2 separate regions of the Homo sapiens genome follow, and region 1 is linked to region 2. Evidence: promoter capture Hi-C in human tissues and cell types (Jung and others, 2019). All regions are on one chromosome and are shown on one strand. Each heading gives the region's core, a stretch centred on a gene start or on the middle of the fragment in contact. The rest is flanking DNA. Distances are from core to core; before and after follow the strand shown.

Region 1 (5,817 bases), core at 1-2,500, 490 kb before region 2:
GCAGGTTTTTATACTTTGGGGGTTGTCTCTAACTTTCCTGCTGAGTTACAAGCCCTTGTTGACATGTGATGGGCACAGTTCCTGGCACATGACCAGTGCTCCTGGGTACCAACCACTCAGTACTTACTTGTTTGTCAGATGCTTTTCCTCCAAGAGAAGAGAGCTGATATAACAGATTGGCAGAGAGTGCCTCAGGTGCGATGAGAAAAAGTCTTTAAAGGGTGCAAAAAGCCTACAAAAGGAATCCAACGGGGATGAAGACAAATGCCAGGGGCTTAGAGAATTCTTTCTGGAAGGGGTAGCCCTGGGCAGGGTCTCAACCACAAGTTATCAAATCCCAGCCCACATTCCTGCCCCTCAGCTGTTGAAGAGAATCGACAGTCTGAGGACCTTATTGATAAGCTTTCTGTCCAAGAACAAACATCACAGAAATCAGCAGAGGGAAATGTCTCTTGTGTGTACACTTGGCAGAGGAGCTGAGCAGAACACGGACCTGGGTCACGTCAGAATCTATCCCTTCATGATGCCATTAAATGGAATGTTTTCACACATGATAACTGGCTGTCTTACAGAGCGGGGCACAGTTCTAGGCAAACACATGTTCACACACACTCCCACGTGTACACACACAGAACACGTGGATGACCACAGGCATATGCAAGGCATGCTTGAACAGTAATTCAGACAATGAAACTTCTGGGCCCTTGAGCCAGCAGGGAATTTCAATCCTAGTAATAGATTACTGTCCCTGACCGACCAGAAGTCTGGGCTCTTATAATGGTTTTAAATCATAGAATTATAGTTTTTAGGGGCTGTAGAAATCAGCTATTTCCACCTCCAACCCAGAGCATACAAATCCTCTCCGACATTCCTGATGTGTTGACACATAGCCTCTGCTTAACACTCCAATGATGGGGAACCTATTACCTTACCTCAAACCCTACTTGATTGTTGTTATTAATAATGCTACTGTAGATTATTGAGCACTGATGCTGTGCCTGGCACTATGCTAAACCCTCTAGGTAGACTATTGCAATTAAGCCAGTGAGGTAGCTTAAATTGAGTCTCAGAGAAATCGAGCTGTCCGTGGTGATGCATTTAGCATGCGGCAGAGCTGGGATTTGAACCTGGGACTGAATGACCCATAGCCTTGCACAGCACTTGTCATATTAATGTGTCTTAAGTTTTGTTGTATAGGAAATCATTCTTCAGAATAAGCTGAATCCTCTGCTTCTCTGTAACTTTCACTGACTGATCCCAGGTCCCAGCTCTGGAGCTTTGCAGAGGCTTCCCTCTGTTCCTTTGCCCCCTCTCCTTTGATAGCCATTTTCAAATATGGGCCCCCAAAAGGATTCCCAGTGGGATATCACCTGCTTTGTTTGGACATTACACTTCGAGTGTGAACCTAAGATGCCATTGGCCTTTTGGGCAGCAACATGACATCATAGACCATTTTAAAGAAACTGCGGGGTTTTATTTGGTCTGTCTCCCAGGCGGGAGTGCAGTGGTGCAATCATAGCTCACTGTAGCCTCAGAATCTTGGGCTCAGGAGGTCCTCCCGCCCCAGCCTCCTGAATAGCTGGGACTACAGGTGCATGCCACCACACCCAAGTAATTAAAAAAAAATTTTTTTTAGAGATGGGGCCTTGCTATGTTGCCCGGGCTCAGCCCATTTTTAACATAAACTGCTGTAGGCTACTTTAATAGTTAAGTAAAAAATACATTCTCAGCCTATTATTCCACTACTTTTAGGATCTTTTTGAAGTTGTAGTTTGTCAGCCTGTACTTTAGCCAGCCTGGCAGCTTTGGGACATTTGCAAATTGGGTAAGATGCCTTTCTATACCTAGGAGATGATTACAGCCAGGCTGATATTTAAGGGCTAAATTTCTCATATCACCCACTAGAGACCACCTAACTAGTGACACTGATCTCTTGTGTGTACACTTGGCTGAGAAGCTGAGAGAAACATGGATGTGGGTCATGTCAGAATCTACCTCTTGATTATGCCATTGAACAGTATGTTTTCACATAAGATAACTGCATATCTTATGGAGTGGAGCATGGTTACAGAAGCATTACATTGGTTCCAGCATCAAATGCCAGCCACGGCTGCATATTTGGACTGAAACTAAAGATATGTCAGGGGTTGCTTCTGAAGATTTAGAGGGCAGGGATCAGTTCCAATCCAGGAGAAAAGGGTAAGGTCAAGGGAGAAATGCCAAAGTTGGGAGACCTCACACCTGTCCAGGGGGCAAGAGTGCACCTGAAGACAAACCCAGGTCTTGACATCAGGTCTGCAAAAGACAGTAGCTCAGGGAAGTATATACCAATGTTGGAGCCTGAGACATGTACCACTCGTGGGAATGCACAGGCACAAATGAGGCATTTCAGGCAATGTCCACACAAATTCCAGAAGACGGAATGCTCCTGGCCTGGGGCTCCTGCTACAGGCAGGTACACTCAACTTTCCTGAGCATGCACCTGGCTGTTCTAAAGGTACCACTTGGCTTGTTCCACCCAGTCTCTGGTCAACTTTGGATTTACTGGTGTGAATCTACCTAATTATATTATTTAGTTCTCATTTCTTCATTTTGCTCACAGGGATATCTTAAACTGGAGTAAAATAATTTTCTGAAGCTGAAATGCATTATATCTAGGGTATTCCCCTTGTATTAGTTACAATATGTTTTTCTGCAGGTTACAGAAGCCCTAAATCAAAGTGGTTTAAACAATAAAGAAACTGATGGTCTCACATAATAAGAAGCCTAGAGATAGATGCAGCATCAAGGTTGGTTGATTCAGTCGCTCAATGATGTCAGCAGAGACTCAGATTCCATCCATCTCTTGTCTACCATTTATAGCATAATGTGGTTCCCCTTAGGCTCTTAAGGTTGCTGCCAGAGTAATTGGGGCAACATACTTTGTTCCCATTCAAGGAGAGAGACAGACTGGATTCTCTTTCTCCCCAAAGCCTCAAGCAAGTCTGTCTTCATGACTCATTGGTTCAATCAGCTTAGTGGCCCAAAATGAACCAATCACGGGGGGTGGAAATGATGTTGGAAAATGTTTGCTACATTCCAGATGCTCTGGTCCAACCATGCTCTCAATAGAATAAATGAGCTCATTTGACTTGGCTCATGCTTAGTGAACCTATGCTGGTTCCTGATACTCACCATTTCTCTAAGTGATCACAAACCATCTATTTAATGACTGTGCTAAGGCTTTACCAAAGATGATAGACTCTAGGGTCTTATATTTGGAGACAGCATTTCTCCTTCTCTCTCTATCTCTCCCATTCTCAGGATTTTTTCTTTTTTCTTTTCTTTTTTTTTTTTTTTTTTTTTTGAGGCAGAGTCTTTCTCTGTCACCCGGACTGGAGTGCAGTGACGTGATCTTGGCTCACTGCAACCTTCACCTCCTGGGTTCAAACAACTCAATTCTCATGCCTCTGCCTCCTGAGTAGCTGGGATTACAGGTGTCAGAATTTTTTTAAGATACAGGCTATCACTCTGTCATCCAGGCTGGAGTGCAGTGGCACAATTATATCTCACTGCAGCCTCACCTCCAACTCCTGGGCTCAAGTGATCCTTTTGCTTCAGCCTCAGTCTCTTGAAGCTGGGACTACAGGTGTGTGCCACCATTCCTAGTTTTTTAGTTTTCTGAGATAGTGTTTGATATGGTTTGGCTGTGTCTCCACTTAAATCTTATCTGGAATTGTAGCTCCCATAATTCTCACATGTTGTGGGAGGGACCTGGTGGGAGGTATTTAATCATGGGGGCAGGTCTTTCCTGTGCTATTCTCATGATAGTGACTAAGTCTCACAAGATCTGATGGTTTTATAAAGGTAAGTTTCCCTGCACACGCTCTCTCTTGCCTGCCACCATGTAAGATGTGCCTTTTCTTCTCCTTTGCCTTCCACCATGATTGTGAGGCCTCCCCAGCCAAGTGGAACTGTGAGTCCATCAAACCTCTTTCCTTTATAAATTACCCGGTCTTGGGTATATCTTTATTGGCAGCATGAGAATGAACTAATACAGCATCTCACTATGTTGCCCAGCCTTTTCTCAAACTCCTGGCTTCAAGCAATCCTCCTGTCTTGGCCTCCCAAAGTGCTGGGATTACAGGCAGTTTGGGTATTATTTAAAGCAGTGGTTTGCAAATGTAACTGTGCAGGAGGATGCCTGTGGTTCTTGTCTGGAGTCCATGGGCCACTAGGCCATAATCCACTAGGCCACATATCCCAGTGGTTAGGAGCATGGCTTCTGGAGCTAGACTGATGGCCTATGCTCAAGTTCCAACTCTGCCACCTTCCATGTCCCTGGCCATTCAACTTCTCTGGGCCTCAGTTTTCTTATCTCTAAAATAGAGGTCATATAGAATCTCCCACATAGGATTGTTATGAAGATTAAAGGAGAGTTATGTCTACATTGTCTAGAACAGTGTCAGGGAGTCGTACGCATGTGTTCACTAACTAAATGCTGATCCCCACCCTAGAGTCTGACATTATAAGTGGGAGAGAGAGTTGGGAAGGCTGTGCTCTTGCCAAGCAGCTGTGTTGGGGATGTGGGGGTGGGATTCTGATACAGGTGACCACCCTGGAGAAACCCTGCCATAGCGAGAACTATTAGTGTGGCCACCATCCTGCAAGAACTCTTCTTGAGCTCTAGAATAAAAGACATTTTTGGCTGGGGAATAAAAATCTCGAACAACAACAAGCATGTTCTTGCTACTGCCTCATCTTATTTGGGCTTCAGTTCTCTCAGCTGTATTTTTTTCTACTTTCTCCAGATCAGGGAATATTGTCCTTGACAGGAAACAAGCAAAGTGGGAAGATTGCTTTGCTCAAACCTCTCTCAACATGATAATGTCCACCATAAAGAGAGGGGCTCGCCCCTTGTTCTTCTTGCTTCAAAAATTTTCAATGTGCCCATTTTTATTGTTGCTGGCACTGCCAGCTCACTGTGGACCACGGTGCCCCTGGTACCCTTCACACAGGTCTGTGTCATGTTTATGTCTTCCTGGGACATAGACACTGGCCCCACCGCTCCATACCCTGCAAGCCCCTTTATAATCTGAGCTCAGGACAGGGCTCCTTGGGTATCACAGTGTTTTTCTATGACAATACCTTTGTTTTCTTTATCAGCTTCATTTGTGATTATAGCACCAGAACTCACTGTTTGAGATGCTCTCAGCCCTCCTGAGCCACCTTACTTTTAGAGCTCCTATCTGTGGGATTGCAATGGTCTTTTTCTGAATCTAGGCAATGCTACCTTCTGAAATTCGACTATCCAATCCAGCTAGGCCCAGCTTGCCCTCCTTGTCCCTTATGAATGCTAAAATGACTTCTTCCAAAGCTTCCTGTCTCATGTATCTATTGCTGCATGAAAAACCACTCCAAGACTTGGTGGCTGAAAACGGCAGCTATCCATTTGTTCATGATTCTGCAATTTCTTCTAGGCTTCTGCTCACCTCATCACGGGCACCTTTGCAGCTGCCGTCAGTGGGTGACTGGGGGCCAGGCTTCAGCCAGGTACATCACTGGCACGCCTGGAGCCTCAGTGGGATGGCTGGGAGGCTCAGTCTGCCTCCACGTGTCTCTTACCCTACAGGAGGTTAGTGTGGAACTCCTTCCATGGTAGTCACAGAGCAGCCAGAGGCCAAGAACAGAAGCTGCAAAGTCCCTTAAGGCCTGGGCTCAGAGGTCATGCAGTATCACTTCTACAGCATTCTGTTGGTGAAAGTAATTTGTGTGGCCAGCCTGGATCAAAGGGAGGGCAACGTAGACTCCACCACCTAATGGAAGGAGTTGCAAAGA
Region 2 (5,530 bases), core at 2,779-5,278:
TCTATGTATCATTTCTGTTTCCCCCATTGGAACAAGCCTTTGAGATGGTGTTCTACTAATCTTTGTATACCTAGCGTCTAGCCCCGTGCCTTGGAACATTATTGGTACCAATAATGTCTTAATTATTTGGTCAATTAAACCATCCATGAATAAAGTTTTTAAAATAACTATCAAAGATTAAAGTGTCTCCATTGGTGCCTTCTCTCAACTTCTGCCCTGCATTCCAAGAAATAATGTTTAGTTTGTATTTGTCACATTCTCCAACCAAATATGCAGTTCTTCAGGGAGCTGACCTTGCTCAGGAAGTTGACCTCGACTAGAGGTTAGGAGAGGTAGCGGAGTGTAGAGCAGCAGTTCCAAGATATTTTAATTTCATAGACTTAGTCACATTTCCAAAGAAGTGTGAGGGTTAACAGGAAGTTACCAATTTTCTTTTTTTTATATATAAAGTAGGACATTAAAAACCACACATACACACATATCAATACCACCATCTCTTCAGAAAAATGGAAAGGTATAACCTTAGAATGAAAGTATAGGAAAGGCAGGTGTATAGTCTCAATTAGTCAAAGATTAGAGCTCAGTATTATGGCTGCCTTGATATCAGGGAGACCTCAAATGGCCTAATTACAAGATCCCCTCCCTACTTTGCTGATGAGGTCCCCCAGCCAAACCACCCTCCTTATTGTGGGGGCCAGGCACAATTTCTGCTTAACCCTGAGTACTGGGCTTCAGCACCCTGCCAGCCCACAGAATTATGCAAACAGCCAATCACATTCTCTTACAGGAAACGGGGGCATTCCACCGTTTTGACATTACAAAGCCTGCCTCCCACAGCTCCTGGTAATACCTGTTTCTGAGTGCAACTCCCATGAAGCAGTTCATGGCGTGCAGTGTTATCCTCCCAGGTATGAGCATATGTGACTAATAAACTGCTATTGCTCTCATTCGTCCAGTGTTGAGGTCATGTGATCCCCCTAACTTTAGGGGATGGGAATCTCTCCCTCATCAACAGGGTGAAGAACATAAAATCAAAACAAGGTGATAACCTGACAGCTATGTTCAGAGTACCCCGGACTGTCCTCGTTTTACTTATTTCACCGTGAACCAGGGAAATGAGTCTAGCAGAGATCTGAGGGTCCGCCCTGGGAGCACTGGAGAGCACAGTGGGAACATGGAGTCAGGAGACTTAAGATCTAATAGTCCAGACCATGCTTCAAAATATTTGTCTGACCTTGACAAATCATTACCTTTCTCGGGCCTCAAGTCCCAGCTATAAAATAGTGGGGCAAGCCAGGTGCAGTGGCTCCCACCTGTAATCCCAGCATTTTGAGAGGCCAGGCGGGAGGATTACTTGAGCCCAGGAGTTCAAGATCAGCCTGGGCAACATGGTGAGATCCCATCTCTACAAAAAAAAAAAAAAAAAATTAATTAGCTGGGCATAGTGTCAAGTGCCTATTGTCCCAGCTACTCAGGAGGCTGAGGTAGGAGGATCACTTGAGCCCAGGAGGTCAAAGCTTCAGTGAGTGGTGATTGCACCACTGCACTCTAGCCTAGGCAACAGAGTGAGACCCTGGCTCAAAAATAAAATAAAATAAAATTTAAAAGATGGGACCACTGTAGTCACCTCTGTGATTCTAGAAAGACAATCTGATGAAATGAGGGAATGGCTGGCAGTCCCTAGGTCATGCTAAAGGACTGTGTGTTTTTAGAAGAGTTTTTATCCCCATATGTTTCTGGGTGGGAAAACAGGAGATGGTGGGAAAAGAGAGATCTAAGAGACCAACAGGGCAGCCGCAGTCTTCTGGCAGGAAGTCTTGCCTTAGCTGGATTCCTCTAAAGCCTTGCTGGTTTCAGCACTCCGATCCTATCCACAGTAAATGGAGTTTTAAAATCTCCTCCCTCCACCACCTTGTGCTCTATCCCCTGACCTCAGATGTCTAATCAGAGCCATTAATTCCATCCAATCAGAGATCTTGCTTGGCAGACACAGAATTGCCACACCTTCTACAGTCTATACTCCCCTCCCCTGCCTAAAAGCAAGGTGCTTGGGGACCCAGAAATTAGGCCAGGTCCTCATAACCTTATCAAAATAGCACTGCTAGGCCTTCCACCCAGCAACACTCAGAGACAGGGCCAAAGAGTGGGAAACGGAGCATCCAGGGCCTCAGCCAGCAGAGCCCAGATGCCTTCTGCAGTTAAGATCCCTGGACTCAGAATCAGAAAGCTGTTAAGCAGGAAGGAGTGCGCTGCCATGAAGAGGCAGACAGAAGCCAGAGCCAGTGTGTCTGGAATGCATCAGGTAGATGAATGGGAAGATGGCTGGGATGGAGTTGGAGGGAGGAGGGAAGTCAGCAGCCAGGGGCCAGGACATTCATGGCCTTAAAAAGTATCCTACAAACAAGAAGCCAGGTTAGCTCACCTATGAAGAGGGACAGTCTTACCAGATCATGTGTTAGAGTCCCCAGATCCTGGGGAGCGTGAGAAAAGTGCAGACTCAGCTGGCTCTAGTACTAGATTAAGGAGGTCCTAGGTGGGCAAGGCCAGCTGCATTTTTCATAAAATGCCCTAGAAACCTCTGCAGTTTACCAAAGTGAATAGCTCCTTTGGACTTAACCATCTGCAAGGCTCATTCCAGTTAGAGTGTTCCATCACCCTAAATGCTGGGAAACCAAGCGAATCTCCTCCCACTTGCAAGCTTCCAACAGTGGCTTCCAACAGTGCCACTGCAGTATCAGAAACTGCAGGGAAGGTGCCAGGGCTGACTTCCATGAAGAAATAGGAGAACAGGCAGGCAGACATTGGGGAGGCCCACAGAATGTCGTGATCAGAATTCATAAAGAGGCTGGCAGGATACAAATCAATCAAATAAACGTTAGTTCAAAAAAATTCACTACACCTGTGAGTGAGAGAAAGTCATCAGCACTGTCTCTAAAAATGAGCCTAGGGCTTCTGGTGACATCCAATCGGTGGGTTATCAGGAGTGCCCCAGGTGATCAGGAGTTGGCCTCGACTCAGTCCTTTTTGTGCTGTCTCCTCCTCTTTCCCAGAGTTCCTCTCTCTCTTCTCCCACTAGGCAGGGATGAGCAAGAGGAATGGCTCACCCTTGAGAGCTGGGGTCCATAGCCCAGGTCAGTTCTCCAGCTCTCCCACTTACCAGCCAAGACAGGAGGTGAGGATTGAGATGGGATGAACCCAGCAGGCGGCCATGGGTTAAAGGTCGCCATGAATGTAATGTGCCCAGCACAGTGCCTGCTAAAAGGCAACACTCCCTTCCTGGTCTGAAGACCAAACAAGCAGACTGTACTCAGGAAAGCCAGAAGAACCTTCCAGCTGTCTGGACCAGAAGGTGCCAGCCCAGGGGCTGAAGAAGACGTAATGCCCAGAGCAAAAAGCGCCTGCAGCCCCCTGAAGGGCTGGGTGCTCTGGAATAGATGAGGGGGCGAAATGGGGCTGGGGACCAGGGACGGACAGGGTGGGTCCAGCACCTGCCTCGCTTCCGAAGGGCTGCTCCAACACTGAAAAACACCCAACCAGCTTCCTTTCAGAAAGACTGGAATATTCCAAAACTTCTCACTGGAGGCTCCGGAGGAGGTGGGCTCCAGCTGAAAAGGAAATGTGGAGGCGTGGGCGCTCCCGGCCTGCATCCTGCACCTCTTACACTTTGGTTTTCCCACAGACTCCTGAAGAATAGGTCAGAAGAAAGGGTTAAAGCCTTAAAAGGGGAACAACCATTGCGGGGCTCAGGGAGGAGGATAATGTTCTTTGGGCTGCCGCACCCTGATCCCCGGGGTCCCGAACCCTCCCGTCCCTGGCCAGGCCTGCCAGCCACAGGGTGAGGGCCCCCTTCCGCCGCAACCTGCCACTCTCACACCAATGCGGGACCGCCTTCTCTTCCTTCCCCACCCCCCACCCCACCCTGCCGTCCTTTCTCCCCCAATCTCCGCCTCTGATTGGCTGAGCCCCCGGCTCCCCGCTCCCCCTCTCCTCCATCCCCGGTGAAAACTGCGGGCTCCGAGCTGGGTGCAGCAACCGGAGGCGGCGGCGCGTCTGGAGGAGGCTGCAGCAGCGGAAGACCCCAGTCCAGGTGGGAACTGGAGCCGGTGGGACCTGGGGCTCGGGGACCGCCGTCAGGCGCCCATGCAAGACTTCCCAACACTAGGCTTCGGGCCACGGTCCGAGGGCGCCCAGGGAAGAAGGGCGCAGAGCTTAGGGAGGGGCCTGCTTTCCAGGCAGGGGCGGGAGGGGGATGCTTCTGCAGGGCAGGGGCCGCGTGGCACCCTGATGTCTTTCGGGGAAGGCGCTCCCGGGCTTTCGCCCGCTGGGGGACTGGTGTCTGGGGCTGGGGCGCTGGAGAACAGGGAGGAAGGGCACCAAGGACAGCCTGTGGGTCTACATTCCACCCAGACGTCCCCAAACCCAGCTCGCAGAGGCGGGGAGGAGGACGGATGAAACTGCGGGGAGAGGATGGAGGATGGCGAGCTAGAGGGAATCTGCCGGGTGACCTCGCGGCGGGCTGGGTGCGGGGCACCGGAGGAGAAGGAAGCCGCAGTGCCGCAGGCGGGGACTGGGTGGAAGGCGGGCGGACGGGGGAGGGGAGAGCTGGAAAAGGATGAGAGAGGGGGAAGGGGGACTCATTTGGGAAAGGAGAGGATTGGAATACGGAAATGGATTAAGGATGAGGCCCGCCGGGGGCTTGAGAGGGAGGAAGAGCAGACCTTCTCTGGGTCTGGAGCCGCCTGAGGACACAGACCAGAGGAAATGAATACAGACTGCACCTCCCCAGCCGCTCTCCACCCCTCCCCTGGCTCTTCTACCCTCTCCAGCCCCAGACCCATTTCTTCCCTTTCTTGCTCTGGCCATTGCTCCCCCTTCCCCTCCTAGATCCCAAGCCCGCACAACATCTCAAACAAGAGTCCTCGATTCAAAAGCCAGATGCCGACCCCCCTTCCTCCTGGATCTGGCTCAGGGCAGCAGCTCCACCCCGGGACAGAGAGAGCATTGATTGTAGCTGCAGCCGCCGCGGGATCCTAGCCTCACCCGTCAAGGGGCTGAGCGCCAGGGACCCTGAACTCGTCTAGTGGTGCGCCCTGCGCACCCGGGCGCACTCAACCGAGGCAATGCCCTGCGCGCTCTCGCGGGTGCACGCCCCTTCTGTGGCCTCTCCTGGGCGAGCACTGCTCTGCAGATAGGCTAGACTACCGGCTCCGCGTCGCCTCGCCAAGGGTTGGTTCAGCCAAGGCTGCAAAAAACAAAAAAAGACCAGGCAGACAGCCTATCCAGGGTGGCTATTGAAACTGGGCTGGAAAACTGCAGTCCCAGGAACTCCAGAGAGCTGGACATTGGGAAGCATCCTTGGCTCACATACAATCGGAGATCACTATGTCTTTCTCTCCTCCAGGAACACGATTAGCTTGTGTCCTATCCAGATAGGAATAGATGCTCCCTATCTGGGAGCATCCTTAGCTATGGTGAATGGTATCTAGCCATCCACTGGGGATGGCGAGTGACTTAGGGATTTGTGTCTCAC

What was found. Contacts are between HindIII fragments. The study calls those that stand out against the background at their distance.
Region 1: a contact is called between a fragment that was not itself captured here and the fragment with the promoter of THY1 in region 2, in 1 of the 25 tissues and cell types used here (dorsolateral prefrontal cortex).

Annotation. Positions count from the first base shown.
Region 1 is chr11:119,913,351-119,919,167 of GRCh38, reverse strand. The region is part of intron 1 of LOC105369526 (a long non-coding RNA gene); the gene reads right to left. Among named protein-coding and RNA genes, the nearest start is that of LINC02744, 78 kb to the left of the region's middle. The HindIII fragment of the contact is 3,258 bases long and covers 1-2,879 here.
Region 2 is chr11:119,421,670-119,427,199 of GRCh38, reverse strand. THY1 (Thy-1 cell surface antigen) reads left to right here and starts at 4,028. Exons shown (of 4, transcript NM_006288.5): 1 at 4,028-4,087. All of the region lies in intron 2 of USP2-AS1 (USP2 antisense RNA 1), which reads right to left. RefSeq lists enhancers at 4,150-4,715, 4,716-5,282. The HindIII fragment of the contact is 13,176 bases long and covers 604-5,530 here.